Regions from separate parts of the Homo sapiens genome. Here region 1 is linked to region 2. The links are contacts of gene promoters, found by promoter capture Hi-C in blood cells and fetal thymus (Javierre and others, 2016). All regions are on one chromosome and are shown on one strand. Each heading gives the region's core, a stretch centred on a gene start or on the middle of the fragment in contact. The rest is flanking DNA. Distances are from core to core; before and after follow the strand shown. Region 1 holds the start of RBL2 (RB transcriptional corepressor like 2). Region 2 holds the start of CNOT1 (CCR4-NOT transcription complex subunit 1).

Region 1 (4,055 bases), core at 1,372-3,871, 5.2 Mb after region 2:
TTCACAACTACTTGGATGGTGGAGGGAGAAAAAAAAAAAGAAAAAAAATAGAAAGTTTACAACTATATCGTTCCTAAAAAGAAGAATTAGTCTTGTGAGAATTTTACAGTGCTTAGATGACAAAATGGAGCGCGAAGCTCTTTTAAATAATTTATGCAAAGAGTAGACTCTGTGCCTAGTTTATCTTTGGTCCTAAAAAATATATGTTGAAAATTCCATAATACTAAAAAAGTTATCCTCAAAATTAACATCTCATGGTCACATCTTCTAGGGTCAAATAGATCTGGTTTCAAATTCCGGCTCTGCCATACAGTAGCTATAACACAGTGGGGAAATTACTTAACAGTCTCAGAGGCTGCATTTTCTTGGCTGAGGACTGTGAGAATGAGTTACAGGTTAAAAATGCACAGAAAATACAAGAAATCAAGTTAAAATTCCATAACCAGTATTCTGTATTAAACATCATAAGAGCTTTATTTTCCCTTGCACTCCCATGAGAATGACATCCCATATTGTCACAGCGTACCTCACTGTAAGCCCCACAAGAGCAGGTTTGCTGCTCTATATCCAGCACCTAGAACAATGTGTAGCAAGTAATAGGTGCTCAAGAAATATTTGATGAATATTTTACTGAGTAAATCATTTACTGAATAAACTGGGCTAAGAAGCTGAAACTAAAGTCTCAGTAATCAAAAGAATTGAGTAATCAAACATGTTTTCAAAAATAATTTACTAACCAGCTATTACGTGATACTTGCTCATGTATCACTAGACTTCATACAACTTAACTGCTATGAGTTGAAATACCTCAAATAAATGGCGATAATGCTTGTTCTATCTGATTTACAGGATTATCTTGAGGGTAAAATAAGAGCTTGTTTGGAAGCCTTTAAGGCCATTTACCAAAAAAAAACCCAAAAAACAAAAAACAACATAAAAAGCCAACCAGTCCTTCTCTTTGCCAGACTACAGAAAGGCACTGAGAGATGAATAGGAACATAGCTTACTCAGCCAGATCATGTAAATATACAAAGAGCTTAGTAAACTTGAAAACACTGTCCATATGGGTGCTTTATGTGCCAGAAACTACATTATTGCCTTATTTAATCTTCAGAACAGCTCTGTGAGGTAAACACAAATATCTCCAGTTTAGAGATCACCATACTGAACTTTTCCAGCGGTTTCAGGTCTGTCGGGTTCTAAAGCCACCATACACTATCTTCTGCAGACCTAACAATTCAAAGAGGGAACTAGTAATTGAATTAAAATTCTATTAATGCAAATACAAATTAAAAATAACCTCACTCATCAGTACACATAGCCAAAAACATCATATTTAAATAATACCTTGGTTAGGCTTTGCATCCTGGACCTATTTGCCCGACTCTTTCTACAAATTAATTATAAAACGACTTGAGAAATCAAATGGCCTCAGGTTTAAATGCCACACACACAGTCAAACAGCTGATAAACAATCCGTACTTCCGTGTCACTTCCCATTGGCCCATGAAGGGGAGGTGCATACAAAGCTGACACTCACTGGCTAGAATGGCCATTTTTCTCATCTGCAAGCCCTGTCCGAAGGCTGCGACCTAACACACCCGGATCGCAACAACAACAGGAGTCCTGTGCAATGCCCGGGGTGACCAAAAAGCCCTCGAGGTAGCCACAGTCCTGATCCTAGTGACAAATGGGGGCATGTGTCTACATCCGGGTCGGCGGAGGGCTCATTTCATCTGGCCTGGGGGGAAATGAGTATTAATTTGTTTACACAGACGTAAACACAGCCCAAAACGCATCAGCACGTTGACTCAAACGCCCGCAACGCCAGGGCAAAGGCAATTTGGTTAACAGGGGGAAGCGAACAGACGGAGACGCCTGGAGACCCAGGTGCCACAACCCGGTTAATCGCGGTGCAAATAAGGGCAAGTCCCCTCCCCTTGTCCGTGTGGTCTTGACAACGACACTAGTTCATTCTACTAACAAGGCGGGCGGGGGGTCAGATGGGCCACACACACCCATTTTCCTCAACGGGACCCCAGCGCGATCTCAGCCTTGCTGTGCTACTTTAGGGCAAGACGCGTTCCCCATTCGGAAGCCGCAGGAAAGCGCGGCGAGAGCGGGTTAGCCCTCGGAGCGGCTAAGAGCCTCGGAATAGCGCAGAGGAAGTCCCCACCCCTCTCGGGGCTGGGAGCCCGCAACCCGCCCGAGAGTCTCTCGAGGCGCGCGACGCGGCTCGGAAGGCACCGGTTCACGCCAACTAGGCCGGAAGCGCCCCTCCGCCCGCGAGCGCACCTCCAGCGTGTAGCTTTCGCTCATGCTGCGGTAGCTGTCCCAGGCCTCGGCCCGCGCCGCCTCGTCCATGTTGAGGCGGCTGCACAGCTCGTCGAACCGCTGCTGGATCTGAGGGGTGGGCGACTCGGCAGGCGGCGCGGCGTCTTCCGCCTCGCCGTCGTCCTCCTCCTCCTCATCCGAGGCTGCCGCCGCCGGAGGGGGAGGCGGGGGCGGTGGCGACTGGTCACCTCCCGACGGCATAGCGCACCCCTGGGCGGCCGGACCTCAGGTGAGGTGAGGGCCCGGGCCCGCAGCCATTCAAACGGCGAAGCGCCCGCCCGTCCGCCGCCCGCACCGCGCCTGCGCCGCCGCAAACGACGCTGACCGCCTGCAGGCACCCGTAGTCTTGAGCACGGGCTGCTGGGAAACGTAGTCCAGGCCGGCGGTTCAAGGGGGCCAAAAATCATGTTTAAAAAAATTAGCTCCCCTAGTTTCACCAGGGGTGAAATAAAAGCACCTTCCCCGCATTTTAAACACGTACCTCCCCACCGTGAGAACATTCAACAGGGCTGTACTGACGAGAAAATGTCCAAAAGACACTGACGTGTGAAGGTTTCGTATCCAGGCTGTTCCCAGAAGTAAAACTTCCTCATCGCCTGGATATCCTTATCTAAAAAATAGGGATAATAGCAAGGGCCTGTCTCTGTACGTTCACGAAACTGCCTTTGCAAAAATCCTAACAGTGAGAAAGTTATGACAGTGCAAGGGATCTGACCTAAATGACTCCACGCTTCTCACTTCCGAGCTGCCCTTGTTCATTCCTGGGCGAAGACCTAACTAACTACAGGAGGAATTTAATTTCTAATTTCACTTTGAAACAAAGATTGTAACAGTCCTTTCCAAAAACAAACCCCATTCTTGCCTGGGGATCAGTCTGCCTTTGTAGAACTAACAAATTAGCCACAAGATTAGAAATTATGATTTAGGAGGCTTGCAGCCAGAGGCTATAAGATTCCTGACCTCCCCAATTGCTCTCAGGGATAACATCACTATTGTAAAACCTAAGATTGGTGCTGGAGATACTTTTCAGACCGCGCATTCCGATGCACTAGCTGGCGCCACTCAGACCATAATCTGGCTCAACAAGTTCTGCAATTCCACTCAGTAACAGAAGACAGCAAGAGCCCACTTCAACCCCCTGTGATTTCACCTCCCACCTGACAAATTAGCATTCGCCAATCCCTGGCCCCCTACCCGCCAAGTCATTCTTTAAAAACCCCAGTCTCCGAATTTTCTGGTAGGCTGATTTGAATAACCAAACTCCTGTCTGCCGTTCAGCTGGCTCTGCGTGAATTAAACTTTTTTTTTTTTTTTGAGACAGAGTCTGGCTCTGTTGCCCAGGCTGGAGTGTAGTGGCACGATCTCGGCTCACTGCAACCTCCGCCTCCTGGGTTCAAGCGATTCTCCTGCCTCAGCCTCCTGAGTATCTGGGATTACAGGTGTGCGCCACCGCACCCAGCTAATTTTTGTATTTTCAGTACAGGCAGGGTTTCACCATGTTGGCCAGGCTGGTCTCGAACTCCTGACCTCAAGTGATCCACCCACCTCGGCCTCCCAAAGTTCTGGGATTACAGGCGTGAGCCACCGTGCCCAGCCAATTCATTTTATTTCCAATTCTCCTTTCTTTATTTTAATTTTTTAAATTGCCAATCCTTGATTTATAAATGGGCTTGATATAAAACATTTTCCAGATTGAGGAGCAATCTGAGGATTGAGCAATT
Region 2 (3,808 bases), core at 533-3,032:
AGGTAATATGAGAGAGATGGCCAGAAGACCACCTACTGAGCCTAGTCTGAGGACAGGGGTGAGCACAGGGATAGGTTTGAATTTCTTTTTCTTTTCTTTTTTTTTTTTGGAGACGGAGTCTCGCTCAGTCGCCCAGGCTGGAGTCAAGCGGCGCGATCTCGGCTCACTGCGACCTCTGCCTCCCGGGTTCACGCCATTCTCCTGCCTCAGCCTCCCGAGTAGCTGGGACTACAGGCGCCCGCCACTACGCCCGGTTAATTTTTCTGTATTTTTAGTAGAGACGGGGTTTCACCGTGTTAGCCGGAATGGTCTCCATCTCCTGACCTCGTGATCCGCCCGCCTCGGCCTCCCAAAGTGCTGGGATTGCAGGCGTGATCCGCAGCGCCCTGCCTTTTTTTTTTTTTTTTTTTTTTTGAGACAGAGTTTTGCTCTGTCGCTCAGGCTGGAGTGCAGTGGCGCGATCTCTGCTCACTGCAACCCACGCCTCCCGGGTTCAAGCGATTCTCCTGCCTCAGCCTCCTAAGTAGCTGGGATTACAGGTGTGCGCCACCACGCCCGGCTAATTTTTTGTATCTTAGTAGAGATGGGGTTTCACCGTGTTAGCCAGGATGGTCTCGATCACCTGACGTCGTGATCCACCCGCCTCAGCCTCCCAAAGAGCTGGTATTACAAGCGTGAGCCACCGCGCCCGGCCTTAATTTCAAAAGGTAATAGAGCTAACCAGTCAACACTTCCTTCCCAATCCTTTCTCTTTTGGGTACAGGTGAGTATAAAATCTTACCAACTATCATAGTTAACAAACAAACCATAGCAAAATATGTTTCTATGCTTTTTCTCTTGAGAGCAAAGGACATGGGTATCCTTTCTTAGACGGCTTCTAGGACTTAAGCCAGGAAGAGAACTTGCGTCTCCTACGTCTCTGGAAGGCGTCTCTGGAAGGTGTCCCTTCTTCAATAGACAGAACTAAAACAGAAAGTTCCCTTGACCAAAGCGAAGCAAGCGAGGACAAGGTGGCCACCTGGGTGACTACAACCCCCAGCATGCACTGCTCCTTCTAGGGCGCAGCGACGAACGAAGACGCATTACTTCTGCGATGGGAACGGGGTAGAGGAGCGCGACTACACATCCCAGGATGCAAAGCGCCCCAACTCTAGTCACAACCTGGCTTGCTTTCTGGCTGGCGTTCCCCGCCAAAGGGACACTAGGGGAGGGGATTGTTTCGGTTGGGAATCCCCGAAGTCTACTGGACCGTGACATTTCGAAAGAGGAAGGAAAGTGGAGGAAAGCTGTTTCACTGTAATTCAAAGTAGTTCCCGCGCAGGGTGGCGAGGAGTTATGGGCCCCTTCCATAATTTATTGTTCCTCAAAGGCAATGCCAAGCCCCACTGGTCGCAGCCCTCCAGGGCAGGTGGGAAGTACGTGAAGCCCCAAATCGAAGTTATCAGCCTCTCCCTATTGGCCCTCGCCTCGAGCGCAGGCGCGAGGGCTCTGACTCCGGTCCCCTGGGCCTGGTGAGCGGCAATTGGCCAAAGTCCGCGAAGTAGGAGGCCGGATTGGTAGTTGCTAGCAGGAGCCTGATTTCTTCCTCGACTTCTGCAAGTGATAGAGTGTGATTGGTTTAAATCCGCGGGCACCTGTCGGTGATTGGGTAGAAGCCACAGGCGGGGCGCGGCCATTGGCTGGCTCTGGGGCCATCCCTCCTCGGGCGGGCAGCGAATGATGAAATGGGAACGGGGAGGGGAAAGGCCGCGACGTGAGCGCGCGACCTCCGGCGCCATTTTGTAGAGAAACAAGCGGAGTTAACCGAAGAGGGGGTCGAGGAGAGCCGGAGTCGGGGACCCAGGAGTTTCCTGTGTCCAGCGCTGCCGGAGCCGCCTGAGGTGAGGCGGGTTGGCGTCAGGGGCTAGGGTAGGGTGGCGGTGTCAGCTTGGGAACGCGAGAGCCGGTGGGAGGAGGAACAGGGGTGGACCTGGGGCCACTGGAAGCGTTTCCCGGAGCTCTAGGGAGTGAGAGGCAGCCGGGACGGGGAAGTGGGACGAGGCGGGAGAGGGCGGACTCTTCTCCACACGGCTCTCGGAGGCTTCGCGCTCTGAAGATGAGAGGCCAGCGAGAAGGCTCCAGGAAGCGGAGGGTAGAGCGCGGGGTGAGACCCATGGTGGTCTCTGTCCCGGGCCTGGAGGCTCAGGGGGCGGCAGCGGCGGCAGTTCGTGTCGCTGGGCCTGGCTTCGCGCGGGTTGCACCCCTCTGAGACCTCCACGACCTCCTTAACTACTGTTTCTGTCTCTGCTCCCTGATGGTTGCAGTGGGCATCGGCTTCCGAGGCCTAGGGCTTCTGGCGGGGGGGACCGTGTTTGGAGTTTTTGCATGTTTCCAGTTCTTCTCCGTGTACTCGGAGCTGCCACTCTCCCCGTCTTACGCCCCCAGCACGTTGTCAAAGCCCCCCAGGTTTCGGGTGTCCCCGGATGGGAAGGGCGGGCGGGAGCAAGCACTTCCTTATTACTTGCTACAGGTTTTGTTCCACTCGCGCGCCTGGGCGCTCACACTTTCTTTGAAGTTGGCCCCCACCTACTCGGTCCGGTGTCTGCAGTAGTGGCGGTCCTGCTCACCCAGGACAAGTGTCCCGCTAGTGAGCTGAGCACTTGTAGGCCTCAAGGCTGATAAGATCCACGGCAGGTCTTGTAGAGGTACTTAAGGCCAAACACAAATAATACTTTTTCAGTACCACCTCCTTTGCAGAATTCACCCAAGAGGGCTCACAGATACTAACTCCCCGAGGAGTAAGCTTTGTAGATTAAAAAAGAATGCTTGACATCTGTGCGTTTGAAAATGTTGTATTTAAAATAAACTTTATGACAAACTTTTCCCATGAAGTTAATCAAATGTCACATTTCTTAGGACTCTAATAAAGTCTGTTTTCTTCCTGAAAACTGAGTAACAATGCTTAACCTACCCTGCCGATTTCTCTACAATTCGATAGCCTGTGACTACTTGGGTTTTTTTTTTTTTTTAAGTCAGTGATTGAGTGAATATAATTATACTGTTTGAAACAATGCCGAACGTTTTCCTTATGACAGCCCCTTTGATAGGAATAGGGAATACATGGATTAAAAAAATGAGGGAAGGCAAGTAAAATATTAGGAGGAAGGTCAAACAGATTAAGAACAATTTTTTTCTATAGGTACTTGGGTTTAATACTTAAGTGATCTGTGGTCCCGGTTGGTATTCCTACCCTTTTAAAGATTGGCAGCAGAGTATTTTAGCTATTAAGAAGACATGTGGTAACAGTTTAAATAATTATGTTTTAGGATACTGCAAATTGTTACCTTGTCTAAGGAGAATATGCATTGATGATACATGGTTTTAGGTGGCTAGCTGTGCTTTGACTGAAATGATAGCATGTTGATAAAACTAGTTTGGAGAGTTAGTTCCTTTTCAACAAGTGTGGGTTCCCCAAGTCTTAGTGGAAACAAGTCTAGAATCGACTGGGCGCGGTGGCTCACGCCTGTAATCCCAGCACTTAGGGAGGCCAAGGTAGGTGAATCACCAGAGGTCAGGAGTTCGAGACCAGCCTGGCCAACATGTCACAACCGCGTCTCTACTAAAAATACAAAAATTAGCCGGGCGTGGTGGCAGGTGCCTGTAATCCCAGCTACTTGGGAGGCTGAGGCAGGAGAATTGCTTGAACCCGGGAGGCGGAGGTTGCAGTGAGCCGAGATAGAGCTACTGCACTCCAGCCTGGGGGACGGGGAGACTCCGTCTCAAAAAAAAGTCTAGAATGAAGGCGCAAAGACATGTCTATTTGTAACTG

Evidence for each region. Contacts are between HindIII fragments. The CHiCAGO score rates a contact against its expected background, and 5 or more counts as called.
Region 1: the fragment with the promoter of RBL2 here is called in contact with the fragment with the promoter of CNOT1 in region 2 in 3 of 17 cell types (M2 macrophages, monocytes and fetal thymus); the score reaches 6.6 in M2 macrophages.

What each region holds. Positions count from the first base shown.
Region 1 is chr16:53,433,037-53,437,091 of GRCh38, reverse strand. RBL2 (RB transcriptional corepressor like 2) reads right to left here and starts at 2,621. Exons shown (of 22, transcript NM_005611.4): 1 at 2,296-2,621. The coding sequence starts at 2,535. RefSeq lists an enhancer at 1,627-1,736 and a silencer at 2,347-2,566. The HindIII fragment of the contact is 5,814 bases long and covers 1-4,055 here.
Region 2 is chr16:58,627,800-58,631,607 of GRCh38, reverse strand. CNOT1 (CCR4-NOT transcription complex subunit 1) reads left to right here and starts at 1,782. Exons shown (of 49, transcript NM_016284.5): 1 at 1,782-1,880. RefSeq lists enhancers at 915-1,404, 1,695-1,904, 1,353-2,028, 2,029-2,705. The HindIII fragment of the contact is 12,291 bases long and covers 1-2,784 here.